3 separate regions of the Homo sapiens genome follow, and all the other regions are linked to region 2. Evidence: promoter capture Hi-C in human tissues and cell types (Jung and others, 2019). All regions are on one chromosome and are shown on one strand. The core of a region is centred on a gene start or on the middle of the fragment in contact, and the rest is flanking DNA. Distances in the headings are between cores, read along the strand shown.

Evidence for each region. The method cuts DNA at HindIII sites, captures the fragments that hold promoters and counts their contacts. A contact is called where the count stands out against the background at its distance.
Region 1: a contact is called between a fragment that was not itself captured here and the fragment with the promoter of WFDC1 in region 2, in 1 of the 25 tissues and cell types used here (bladder).
Region 3: a fragment that was not itself captured here is called in contact with the fragment with the promoter of WFDC1 in region 2 in 2 of the 25 tissues and cell types used here (hippocampus and spleen).

Annotation. Positions count from the first base shown.
Region 1 is chr16:84,601,204-84,605,538 of GRCh38, forward strand. The region is part of intron 2 of COTL1 (coactosin like F-actin binding protein 1); the gene reads right to left. Among named protein-coding and RNA genes, the nearest start is that of COTL1, 15 kb to the right of the region's middle. RefSeq lists a silencer at 1,920-2,214 and enhancers at 2,106-2,225, 2,236-2,800, 2,266-2,475. The HindIII fragment of the contact is 8,893 bases long and covers 1-4,335 here.
Region 2 is chr16:84,291,656-84,296,382 of GRCh38, forward strand. WFDC1 (WAP four-disulfide core domain 1) reads left to right here and starts at 3,223. Exons shown (of 7, transcript NM_021197.4): 1 at 3,223-3,460. The coding sequence starts at 3,317. It overlaps LOC124903734, which reads left to right. Exons shown (of 6, transcript XM_047435022.1): 3 at 43-321; 4 at 844-895; 5 at 1,862-1,980; 6 at 2,678-3,183. The coding sequence starts at 318. The coding sequence ends at 3,183. The HindIII fragment of the contact is 18,601 bases long and covers 39-4,727 here.
Region 3 is chr16:84,737,822-84,742,103 of GRCh38, forward strand. USP10 (ubiquitin specific peptidase 10) reads left to right here. Exons shown (of 14, transcript NM_005153.3): 3 at 2,488-2,548. Among named protein-coding and RNA genes, the nearest start is that of USP10, 40 kb to the left of the region's middle. RefSeq lists an enhancer at 871-920 and a silencer at 1,882-2,176. The HindIII fragment of the contact is 4,524 bases long and covers 1-3,956 here.

The DNA.
Region 1 (4,335 bases), core at 1,253-3,752, 310 kb after region 2:
TTGGTTATTTGACAAACACTTACTGACAATCTGTGATACAGGGATTTTGCTGAAAATGCAATCCCTACCTTCAAAAAATATACAGTCTACCATAGCAAACAAAAATGTAGTGTGTGAATACCATGAAATTACTGCTATGGCAAAGAGTTGTGACTGGCAGTTACAGGAGCATCAAGGAAAGAAGGAAATCCGCTCTGCCTGGGCAGCTGTGACCAGGACTGGCTTTGCAGAGGAGGTGATGTTTGATTAGGGTCTTTTTCTTTTATCCCCCCGAGACGGAGTCTTGCTCTGTCACCCAGGCTGGAGTGCAGGGGCACAATCTCGGCTCATGCAACCTCCGCCTCCCGGGTTCAAGCAGTTCTCCTGCCTCAGCCTCCCGAGTAGCTGGGATTACTGGCACGCTCCACCACACCCAGCTAATTTTTGTATTTTAATATAGACCAGGTTTCACCATGTTGGCCAGGCTGGTCTCGAACTCTTGACCTCGTGATCCCCCCATCCTGGCCTCCCAAAGTGCTGGGACTACAGGCATAAGCCACCGCACCCATCCTGATCAGGGTCTTGAAGGATGACTCAGAGTTCCTCCAGAGAACAGGGTAAGGACAAAGAGGGTTCTTGTTGACAATTTGAGAGGGAGATTGTGACAGAACTCCAGACAAAGCAACAGCCTCTGCTGGCAAGTTCAAAACGCCTTCCTCCACCAGCCCTTCTCTCTTTTTCCGACTCACCACAAGCCAGAAGGGCATATGATGCAGCTGATGATAACTGTGTGCAAACTAAGAGCTTAAAGGCTCAGAATGAGCTACAGGCCTCCTTCAGCTTGCTCAGCCCTACTCCAGGAGGGAAGGAATCTCGTTCCCTAGCACATCCAAAGCACCCAGACGATGCCCCACATGTACTCAATACATACTTCCCGAATAAATGAAGGGCATCTACATGGCATCTTTGACTTCTCAGAGGCTTTTCAGTTCCAAATTTGCAGCTGCGTTTCAGTTCAATGGGGGTGGGGGGGGTGCCATTTTATAAGAGTAAAACCAAGCAGATGGGCACAGCAGCTCACACCTGTAATCCCAACACTTTGGGAGGCCGAGGCAGGAGGATTGCTTGAGCCCAGGAGGTTGAGGCTGCAGTGAACTATGATCGCACCACTGCACTCCAGCCTGGGCCACAGTGAGACTCTGTCTCAAAAAACTTTTTTTCTTTTAATTAAAAAAAAAAAAGAATAAAACCAATTCTTTGTCAGGATTTTTAAAGTGTGACTTCCACCCCCAGAGAGCAGGAATGAATAGACAGGCAGGAACGAATGGATATGGACAGACATAACAACTGATTTGTTTTGACAAATTTGTGGTTTAATAAAAGCACATGTGGCCAGACGCAGTGGCTCATGCCTGTAATCCCAGCACTTTGGGAGGCCAAGGCGAGCAGATCACTTGAGCTCAGGAATTCGAGACCAGCCTGGCCAACCCGGCAAAACCCTGTCTCTACTAAAAATACAAAAATTAGCCATTCATGGTGGTGCACACCTGTAATCCCAGCTACTCGGGAGGCTGACGTAGGAGAATTGCTTGAGTCCAGGAGGCAGAGGTTGCAGTAAGCTGAGATCATGCCACTGCACTCCAGCCTGGGCGACAGAGACTTCATCTCAAAAAAAAAAAAAAGTGCATGGAAAGGGAAGGCCAAAAAGGCAGTGTTGCTGGAGTCAGCGATGCCAGAGTCAGTGATGCCTGCGTAACAAGGAAGCTGCTTCTCCACCTTTCACATGCACCAAGAACGGTAGCCCAGAGGGACGCAGCTGGCTTGAAACCTCAGCGGCATGAGAGCCTGGAGACCAGGGTTCAGGTCCTGGCTCTGCCCCTTTCCTCCCATGTAACAATGGCCCAGCGACTTCCCCTCTCTGCCCCCCAGTTCCCCGGAGGCCTCTCCATCTCTGCCTGGGAGCCCCTGGTTGGTGGGGGCAGACTCGCAGCCAGTTTTCCTTCCCCGTGGACTTTAACAACACTCCAGCCCGCAAGCCTGCGCACACCAGCCCCCACGGGGACAGCTGACTCACTTTACTCTTCTACGGATTCACTTATTCATTACCCCATGCAACATCCGAGGCAGAACCTCCCCTCTTCCCAAAGGACTGAGGCAACGAAGTGTGACTCAGCCAGGGCTCTGCGCCAGGCTCTGAGTGAACACACTGGAAACCCGGCCGTGGGTACAACACGGCGTCACAGCTCTGCCGTAAACACAGGGGGACCCACTGAGAGCCCAGGGGACCAGCAAGCCTCCCCCTGGAGGTCTCCTCATCGGTGACACAGCACGTTGATCCTCATCAGCCAGCTGAGGGGGTGATGCCCTGGGAATCGGGCCTGGCACACAGGAAGTGTTGGGAAGCGCTAGGTGAGGATGATAAGGACAAGGCGGCCTTGGGACCAACGGTGACAATGGCAACAGACTATGAAGCGAATGGAGGCAGTGGGGGAGCCGGGAGTTCAGAGGGGAGAGGCAGGGCTGTGCTCAGGGAAAAGGGCTGCTCAGGGCCTGTGGGGTTGGCGCATCATGCCTGGGGACCCAGAAGAAGTGGCAGAATAAGACCCTGCCCAGCTGGGAATGAGCCACAGAAAGGGCCAAGGCAAAGTTCTAGGAGGACATGAAACAAAAGTGATCAGAATAAAATGCGCACTGCTCCAGGAAAACCCAGAGGCCTCACATGGCTCCCGGGGCCACTGCACCCTGGGCCCTGCCAGCTACCCACCTCCCCCCACTTTCTACCCGCCACTCCCCACCCACCTCCCTCCCTGATGGCCCCCACCCCATGCTCCCCACTCCCTACTACCCCCGCAACTCCCCTCTCCCTCCCGCTGCCCCACCACGGCCCAACCCCATACTCCCCAACCGCCTTCTCACCCATGCTCCCCTCCCACTCCCCACCCATGCTCCCTGCTCCACAGCCCTCACCCCATGGCCCCCACCTACACTACCCCCTACTCCCCAACCCCTGCGCTCCCCATCCACACTCACCGGCCATAGCCCTCATGCCACGGTCCCCACCCCCTGCTCCCCACCCCACACTCACCCTCCACAGCCCTCACCCCCTGCTCTCCACCCTCACTCCCCACCCACGCTCCCCTCCCACGGCCCCCACCCCATGGCCCTACTAGGTTCCTGTCCTCCTGCCCACCCAGGAGCCTCATCCTCCTTTTTTCTTTATGCTTTTTCATCCTAAGATATTATTTACACAGCATGAACTGCACCCTGTGAAAGTGGACATTTCAGTGGGTTTCGGTCCATTCACAAGGTTGTGCATGGTGATGCACCCCACTGAGCTCTCCCAGCACGAGTGCCCAGCAGACCGTGAGTGCTCAGTTTATATGTGTTGGGGGGATGAGTGACCAAAGTCACCCAGGAAGAGAGTGTGGTGTTCCCAAGAATGGGCCACACAGCAGCCAGGTTTGGCCAAATCCAGAGAGCTGCAGGGTGGACACAGCCCTCTCTCTGTCCCTCTGTTAGGCAGGGGCCCAGAGGGGGCTGTGGCTGTAGGGGTCACACAGGGGCCGCCAGGAGCCTGGCTCTTTGCATCTCAAGCCAGGTTCTTTTCACCCCTCCCCCAGCTCCAGCTGACCCCTGGCCCGCCTGAAGCAGCAGCAGCTTTTATTTGCAAGCCATGAACAATACACTCCATTTTATAAGCAGCGTAGAATTCTAGCCAGAAACGGGGAGAAAAGTGCTTCCGGGTCAGAGCAGACCTCCAAAGGCGAGCCCTGCAGGCAAAAGTAGGGAAATCGGGATTTCCTGGGAAAGTCTCTCCAGGGCAGGAGGGAACACTCGGGTTCAGGAATTAAGGAGCATTGCTCCCCAGACACACGCACAGGCTTTCTGTGTCAACAACAATGGCAGAAATGGCCTCTAAACAACAGTGGCCTCTAAACACTTCCCACGGCCCCCCATGGCCTGGGCCTGGGCCTTAGGTCTGCCCCACGGTGTTCCACAGAAGAGCCTCCCGTGGTCTTCCCTTCTTGTTTCACAAAGATTTTACATTGCAAGCTGGGGTGCAGGGGGTGTCAGGAGTGGGGGCGAGAAGCACACACGCCAGGTAAGAATTGCAGCCTGGCCTGCGTACTGCCTCGGCTGTGAAATGGGATAACAACAGGGCCCGCGATGCTGGGTCACTGGGCATATTAAATGAAATCACAAGTGACTGCGGCAGGCAAAACAACGGCCCCTAAGACATCTATGTCCTAAACCCCAAAACTGTGAATATGTCCCTCACATGGCAAAAGGGCTTTGAGGGTGTGGTTAAGGTAAGGATCCTGAGATGGGAGATTCTCCTGGGTTATCTGGGTGACA
Region 2 (4,727 bases), core at 1,973-4,472:
CATTCATTACACCGTCTTTACTGAGTGTCTACTTTGCACCAGGCACTGCTTAGGGATCGGCGATTCCAAAGTGAACAAACAGATCCCCAGAAGCTGCCCCCGTGGAGCTGACATCCTAGTGTGGAGACATAGACGATAAACGAAGAAAGCAAAGTTAGTAAAATACAGAATATGTCAGGTGGAGATGAGTACGAAGAAGCATAAAACCAAGAGGGGCACCGTGAGTCCCAGTGGTATGCAAATGGTGGTTTTCAATCCTGGGGTCAGAGAGGACCACAGCAAGAAACTGACACGTGAACAAAAGTCTGGAGGAGGTGATGGGTGAGGAGTGCCGCAGCTGGGTGGAAAAGCATTCCAGGTGGAGGGCGCTGCAGGGGCACAGGGCTGGCGCCTTGCCCAGCAAGGAGGCTGAGAGAGGGCATTTGGAACCTCGTCTACCCAGAGGGAGGGGAGTCATACTGTTGGCAGAAGTGAGGCCACCCAGGGAGAGAGAGAGAGAGGCAGGAAATGGGCCAAGACTGTAACATCAATGGGAAACGCCTACATTTTAAGGGGAAGGTGGAGATGGAGGATGAGCAAGAACCACATGGGAGGCGTTAGCTGCCTTAGGAGAGCGCAGGGCCCCAGGTTCCAAGCAGCAGGAAGTTTCTCAAATGGAACCTGGGCCAAGGTTCCGCTCTGCCTGGAGAACAGGGTGCGGGTGGAGGAGGCCCAGGAGGCGGTGCCTCAGAACGCTCATCTCCTAACAGCAAGCATGTGCTGAGCCTAGATCCTCGCCTAAGTGCAGCTGGGCCTCATGGCAAACCTGCGAGTAAGTTCTGACTCCATACCCCTGTTTTACAGATGAGAAAACAGAGGCAGAGAGATGGGGCAGGACCTGTTCCAGGTCGTCCTGGTAAGTAGGGGTAGCAGCTCCATCATGTCCGTGGGTGGCTCCTGGCTTCTAAATAAGCAGCCTTGCCCTGCAGGGAGGGGCATTGAGACTGCGTCCCATAAAGCTGAAAGAAGAGGGAGTGGAGCACGCTGGACCATGCCCCCATAAGGGCTCAGCCAGTAGTTTCTGGATGAAGAAATGAAGGAATATTCTAGAATCTAGGGCAAGGTAATGATCAGGGCTGGGCCTAGCGGGAGGCAAAGGAGGCATCTAGGGTCTAAAATGTAAAAAGACTCTCACGCTTGGGCTCCTGGGTTTACAGGACTCTGATGGTGAACTTAAATTTTGCATTGCTCACTGGGCAAGTGTCTTAACCTCTCTGTGCATGGGATCCTAGACAGCACCTGCTTATAAGGCTAATATGAGACCTAAAAGCATTAAAATGCAGGAAGTGCTTCAAACATTGCCGAACACACAGACTGTATGGCTTTTAAGGTTTTTTTTTTTTGATACAGGGTCTTGCTCTGTGACCCAGGCTGGAGTACAGTGGCGCCATCACAGCTCACTGCAGCCTCAACCTCCCACGCTTAGGTGATCCTCCCATCTCAGTCTCCCAATTAGCTGGGACTACAGGTGTGCATCAGCACGCCGGGCTACTTTTTTTATTTTGTATTTTTTGTAGAGATGAGGTCTCACTATGTTGCCCAGACTGGTCTTGAACTCCTGGGCTCAAGGCATCCTCTGCCTCCCTAAGTGCTAGGATTACAAGTGTGAGCCACCGTACCCGACCTACACAGACTATATGTGTTTGCCACTATTGTCATTCACTAAAAGGCCAAGAGGGGTTGATGATACCTGCCCAGGGCATTCTGAAGGCTGTGCTGGCCAGGAGGTGGGGGGTGAGGGTCCCCAGGGAGGGAGGAACCAATCTTTCTGGAGCACTCACTCTGTGCAAGTGCTGGGCACAGCTGGCACCCTCTCCTGTAGCCCCACATCGATCTCAAGAGGCAGAGACTTTCACATGCCCATTTCACAGATGAGAGAACTGAGGACCATGAGCAAGAGGCTTTCCAGCATCTCGCAGAGGCTGAACTGGGATCAGGCAGGTGCGTCAAGCCTAGTGCTTGGGTCCCTTCTGCTTCGCCTAGGGGGGTGCCACAGGGTCTGACCTACCTGGGTTCCAGCCTCCTCTCTGCTGCTGTTGCATGACCTCAGGCAGCCCCCTCTGTTTCCTCATCTGTAAAGCGGGCATCAAAACAGTGTCTGTTTTGGGGCCGGGTGTGGTGGCTCACACACCTGTAATACCAGCACTTTGGGAGGCTGAGGCGGGCAGATCACTTAAGGTCAGGAGTTTGAGACCAGCCTGGCCAGCATGGTGAAACCCAGTCTCCACTAAAAATACAAAAATTAGCCAGGCATGGTGGCACATGCCTGTTATCCCAGCTACTTGGAAGGCCGAGACAGGAGAATCGCTTGAACCCGGGAGGCAGAGGTTGTAGTGATCTGTGATCACACCACTGCACTCCAGCGTGGGTGACAGAGCAAGACCCGTCTCGAAAAACAAAACAAAACAAAAAACCAGTATCTGTCTTGGAAGTGCTGAGAACAGACAAGGGAATATGAAGTTTGTGAAATGTTGAGCCCGCTGTGCTACATTCCTGTAAAACACACACGTGCACATGCACACCCACGTGCACACACGCATACACATAAATGCACATGTGCAGATACACCGGCTGACAGTGACAGCACACTTATGTGTGTGAAATGCTTTATGTGCTCAATTTCTTTTAAATCTCACAGGAAACACACGCTATGAGGAACTACCCACATGCCCACATCAGGCAGGAGGACCCCGGCGGGTGCAAGGGTGGAAGTCGTCTCTTCATGGCTGCACCCTTGGCCAGTGCCAGTCCAGCAGCCTCTTTCAAAGAAGCTTTTATAGGCAGATAGTTTGTCAGCCCAGCTCGAAATGTGAACAAGGTAGCAGCCGAGCCCCCACCCATCCGGCTGCACTCCCCTGCATGTCCAGCCCCGAGCCCTGTGTCAAGCACACCTCCTTGGGAGGAGACCGCCCCAGCCTGCAAGGAAGTGCTCATTATGGAGAGTGGAGAGTGACAGGCCACTCCCGGCCACGTCTCCAAGCAAGCCGGTGCCCCCTCCTCCTGCTGCCACCGCCCACTGAGCTGCCTGGGCTGCAGACGCCCTGGTTGGAGCGTCTGGGGCCAGATGTTATAGGGCAAGCTAAAAATAACCGGGCAGGCCAGCCACCATCGAGGAAGGGGCATGTGCTGGACGCGGACACATGATCCGAGGGACCCTGCTGGGTGGAACTAAGAAAGTCCAGCAGACTGTGCACGCTCCTGTCCCCACTCACAGGCCCACGCAGCGAGGGGGGCCCCTCTTCTGTGTGCGTCTGGAAGGTCGCTGCCCAGGGAGGAAATGCCTTTAACCGGCGTGGGGCCGGGCAGCTGCAGGAGGCAGATCATCCGGGCTCTGTGCCTCTTGCTACTTCTCCTCCACGCCGGCTCTGCCAAGAATATCTGGAAACGGGCATTGCCTGCGAGGCTGGCCGAGAAATCCCGTGTAAGTGCCTGGGATGGGGAGGCTGGGGCAGCCTGTGTGGGTGGGAGTCAGCCTTGAGGAGAGGCGATCCCTAGACACTGCCTTCTCCTGTAAGTGCTCCCCCAAAACGTGGCAAGGCAGGCGTCTTCCTATCCGTGTGTGTCTGAGTTGTGTGGTGGGCAGATGGGGCTCACCCCCAAAAAAGGACCCTTATCTGTGAATCAAGAGGCAAAAGACACATCACAAATGTGCCAAAGAATCGTGCCTTACTTTTGCCTTGTTACAAAAGTATGCTTGCTCCTGAAAGACAGCATCTCATTTCGGAACCCCAGGATTTAAACGGAGCATTCCGTCTCCCTGATCAGTACCAAATGTTTGTGAAATACACTTATGCATTCATGTGGTTGTTTATTCATTCAGCAAACAGAATGAATACACTCTGTTAAACAGAATTTAGCAGAAACCGCTCTGGGGAAGGCACTCTGTGGGGTCCTGTGGATACAAGATAAAGGAGGTACCAGCCCCCATCCTCAAGGGTGGCGTGGCCGAGGTGCAGAGGCAGTTGGGTGACAAACGATGGCAGTACAAAGAGAAGGCATGAGGCAGTGAGTGGCAAGAAACACATGCCCTGGGGCCAGATGTCTGGGTGTGAATCGGGCTCTGCTGCTCATTAGCTGCGTGGCTTCTCTCAGGCAAGCTGCTTGACGTCTCTGAACCCCAGCAATCTCATCTGCAAAAGACAGAGGGATGCATTTCTTCACACAACTATGTCTGGGTCGCCACTGTTTACCAGGTACTGTCCTAGGCTGTGGGGATACAGGCCTCACATCTCTGCCTGGGGAACTCAATGGGGGGCTGGGGGCAGCAAAGAATAAATGAGAGAGATCTCATTTATTAGTATGTGCAGATTGCAAGTGCTGAGGAAGCAATAAAGCAGGAAGGGAACTAGGAGAGAGAATGGGGTGGAGGAGGCTATCATTTTTGGTTCCTCCCACCCCCCAGAGATCACAGATCCGCAGGGACGGAGTGAGCCAGGACGATATCAGCACACAGAGGGCTCAAGAAGGTAATGCTGGCACCCACAGCACCTGTGTGAGGATTGAATGTCTCAGTATGTAGAACGTCTTTGCAACATAGCAAGCTGGCAGTGCATCTTGGCAGCTTTCAATCAAATAATTGTGACTTTGTTTGGTGTTGCCTAACAGGGTAGCATGTAGGTTCCTTGGGGTAGGGCAGGGTTCTGTTTCACTAATGTGTGCCCCTGGTGCCTGCCATTAAGTTGACGCCT
Region 3 (4,282 bases), core at 445-2,944, 440 kb after region 2:
GGCACACCCTGAGTGCCCAGTCAGTGCCACCTGGTGTCACTGGTCCAGCCTTTCCAGCCTCTCCACCCTCAGTCAGCGCCACCTGGCATTACCGGCCCCGCCTCTCCACTTGGCTTGTCCTCAGCGTCATCTGTGTATTTTTCCCGATTGCTGGGGTTTTCTTCTGCATGTTGTGGGAGTGGCTGGGAGTTGAGTGAGTGTTCACACCCCGTGGTTGAATGTTGAGGAAGGGGACAGCCGGAAGATGGTGAGCAGGGTTCTAACAGCTCTCTGCCTTGTGAAGTGGATGGGTGAAGAGGTCCCTTCTCTGAATTGTGCGTCTTCCCAGCCTGCTGCAGTCTCTCGGGTCTGGAGGTTTCCTTCAGCATTCTCTCTTCCCCGAGCAGAACAGAATACTGGGAAGTGTGAAGAGAACATTGATATAATAGTGATGAAACTGTTTTGACTCAGAAAAAGATGATTTCTTGATGTTACAATAAATTTTGTGTAAAAATAGAGTGATTCAAAACACTTTTCATGCCTCAAAATAACACAGCTTTCTGTCACCAGGGGGCATCCTAGTGTCATTAACAGAAAAAGAGGGCATTCTATGTATCAGTTTCTAAACTGTCTTCTTTGACCACAGAGGGTTTTGAACGAGATGGAGGCTTCCTGAGACACACATGGCCGCTGTGTCCACTGCCCTTATAGACCCACCTCTCTGCTCCAGGTGCCTGCCAGCATCAATGCTGGTGTGTGGAATGGTCTTTGCCTTGCGGGTGCCAAGGCTAGTGTAGCCCATCTCAGCATACAGAATGCTTTCTTCTGGGTGTCAACGTGATGCGTACTAGGTTGCCCCCTGGTGGTGGAGATAAGTGCAGCTGTCAACTCCTGAAGGTGTTGGCTTCTTTTGAATTGCCCTGTGTTTTCCTGTTTGTCATAATTCTCTGGGAAGAGAACTTACTGCGTTACTAGCAGAGAGAAGCTTTTATTGCTGTGATTATTGAATTGGTGTGCTGAGATCTCATTGGAGAACTCAGCTGAGGAAGCCAATCAAGCAGCAGCTCTCATACAGTATTGGGCATGAGACTTACCTAGGAGCCTCTGAACTTTGCGGCCCTAGGGCCGTTCCTGCACTGGCCTTTGTACTGCAGTGAACAGACTTTGGGAAGTGCTGCACCAGAATGTCTTTTTGTTCTTTTGTTCTGCCCTCAGGTAGCAGTTTATCTCTCTGCTTACCTTACCCCTTTTCTTCCTAAACCTTTTTTTTTTTTTTGAGACAGAGTCTTGTGCTGTTGCCCAGGCTGGAGTGCAGTGGCACTATCTCGGCTCACTGCAAGCTCCGCCTCCCGGGTTCACGCCATTCTCCTGCCTCAGCCTCCTGAGTAGCTGGGACTACAGGCACCCACCACCATGCCCGGCTAATTTTTTGTATTTTTTAGTAGAGACAGGGTTTGTTTTTTTTTTGTTTTGTTTTGTTTTGGTTTTTGAGACAAAGTCTTGCTCTATTGCCCAGGCTGGAGTGCAGTGGCGCGATCTCGGCTCACTGCAACCTCCATCCCCCAGGTTCAAACGATTCTCCTGCCTTAGCCTCCCAAGTAGCTGGGATTACAGGTGCCTGCCACCACGCCCAGCTGATTTTTTGTATTTTTAGTAGAGATGGGGTTTCACCATGTTGGCCAGACTGGTCTAGAACTCCTGACCTCAAGTGATTCACCCACCTCAGCCTCCCTCATTGCTGGGATTACAGGCATGAGCCACCATGCCCTGCCCCTTCCTAAACTTTCTTACACCCAATGTGTCCATTGGAAGCATTTCCAACTCTTAAATAAATGTTATGGAATAGCTAGGAAGAAGAAAAATTTAAGTTATTTTTGAGATAACCTTTCAGCTTTTTACAAAGAAGTCAGACAGTTCCCATTCTGCTTTCTGTCTGCCAAACAAGGAATGTGACTTCTAGCTGTTAATGTAGTTAATTAAGGCACTGTGTTAAAAAGGGAGCTGCAGTCACCAGGCTTTTTGTTTATAGTGCGCTTTCCTCTGCTCTCCGACCATGGACCTGGTCCCAGCCTCTACTGGCTGTGTTGCAATGTAGTGATCGTGAATAAGAGGTGCAGTCAGGAAGAGTCATCTTCGCTAGTGCACAAACAAAAGTGTCTGTGGTCTGGATGGTCAGTCACTGACATCCTGTGGAAAGAAGGATGTATCATAAGCATTTCATTGTAGCTGATTTACATGTCCATTGGAGTTCATTTTTATTCCTTTTGGCTTCATTTTCGGATCTGTTTAATAGTGATAAATATTTGAAAGCATTTCTATTGTGTTTTTTTCGTTAAATGAAGATGATTTAGATTGCACTGACTCTTCATGTATGTTATTCTGCTAGAAGTAACGGCATGCAAAGTTGTATGGATTAAGAGTTTTAATGAATTGTTGCCTTAATTAAATGGTAAGCGTTGGTTTTAACATTTTGTTGAATTAAAATTTGTTTTCTGATTCCTTGTGCAGCTTCCTCCATACAGTGGAACAGTTCTGTGTGGCACACAGGCTGTGGATAAACTACCTGATGGTAAGCTAGTTCTCTCCTTATTTCCCTGAAGGGAATTTGGCCATACGTGCTGGGTGGGCAGGCTACCTGTAAACATTGTTTCCCATTTGAATAAACATTTCTTTGTAGCTTGAAGTTTTTGCTGTAAACTGTAATGTATTTAATTGCTGAATCACTTTGACTAGTGAATTGGTTTTAAAGCGTATCCTGTGCTTCGGAGTGCCAGCCATGTAAGATTTAGTTTAGGAAATGGTTGTTGAGTTCTTTTTTTCCTAACAGTTCTGAGTGCAACAGGTATGTTACTCTTCATCAGCACATGCTGGAGTTGAAGCGAACTTTGGGTCTTGTTGCTAAGCAGCCTGCTGGCTCCAGCGCCAGCTAGCTTCTGAGCCTGTGTTCTTTGTAAACTAAGGGGCAGCTGGCATCTGTTGTTCTTGCAGTTCACATTCATGTCCTGGTCTGTCGCTGACTCTTGGGAACTCAGGTCAACTCTTCACCTCCTGGTCTGTTACTTTTTTGGGTCTCCATCACAGGCACTAAGCTGATTGCCAGAGATGGTGCTTATGGAGATGCAATGATTTTGTATTGCTTAAGTACCCAGCGTTGGAATACCAACAAGGTTGTTTAATTATTGATTGCAGGCTGCCCTTGCACAATTCAAACTTGTCGAGATCATTTTTCAATCTGAATCACTTTAAAGGCCCTTACTGGCCTCCAGGAAACTGATGCCAAACTTTTTCTTTGAGAGTTAGAGGTTTGGATTCCCTGTTCAGTTAGCATGGTCAGACTTATGAAAGGGGTTTTAATTACAATTTAGGCTTCAATAGAAGCCTTGAAAAGACTAACCAAACGTTTTATCTCCAGTAACATCAGGGAGTGATTATATCTAAAATTTTAGATTTATAAGAAATGTGGGAGACCATAAGGGAAAGAGCAGATCTAACAATAGCTTAGGACAAGTAATAAAATGAATGAAGCTTGAGGGACCGGGAAGCCGGGCTGCTCAGCCTCCTGAGCCACCTTTTAATTGGCTGATGTCAACCTCTCAGACATCTGAGTCAGTGGGACTTCCTCTGTCACTGTGTGCTTTGCACGTGGTGAGCATGCTGCTCATGTTGAACCAGTGCTTACAAATGCCCCATGATGTTCCCATGCACATCACTTCTTTGAGTTCACCCTCCTCCCTGTGCAGTGGGCACCACCAGCTCCCCCAGCCTCTGGAGTTCTGCTTCCCCCTCCCTCCTTCCAGCCTGCCTGCCCTTTTCAGTGACTGCTTCTTGGCCCTTTTTCTCCATTCTTTACTCTGTTCCCTCTAAGTCCTGCCTTTTTTCTGCCAAAAACACGACTGGAATCTTGCCACCAGTTTGCACAGTTAGTGACAGGCCTGCTTTTCTCTGCAGCCTTTCTGGGTATCTTGTGTTTCCATGACATTAGTTTCTCTTCCAGTGCCTGTTCGACTGTACAGAGCCTGTGGGCACTGTCATGGACCTGCCTCTCTTTCCAGCCTGCTCAGCTGCTGATGGCAGGATCCATTTCTCTGTGTCTGTCACTGCGCCTGTAGTATCTGGAATGTTGTAAGCCCTCAGTACATTTGTTGGATGAATGGTTTAGGATGCTTTATTCTGCTCCCTCCCACTACCTCCAGCTGCAGCAAGCCCTTTGCAGAGGCACCTCATCGTGGCTTCCCTTTTAGATCTCGGCCTTTTCTATTTTTGTGTTTTTTAATTTTTTTATATTTTAATTTTTGTAGGTACA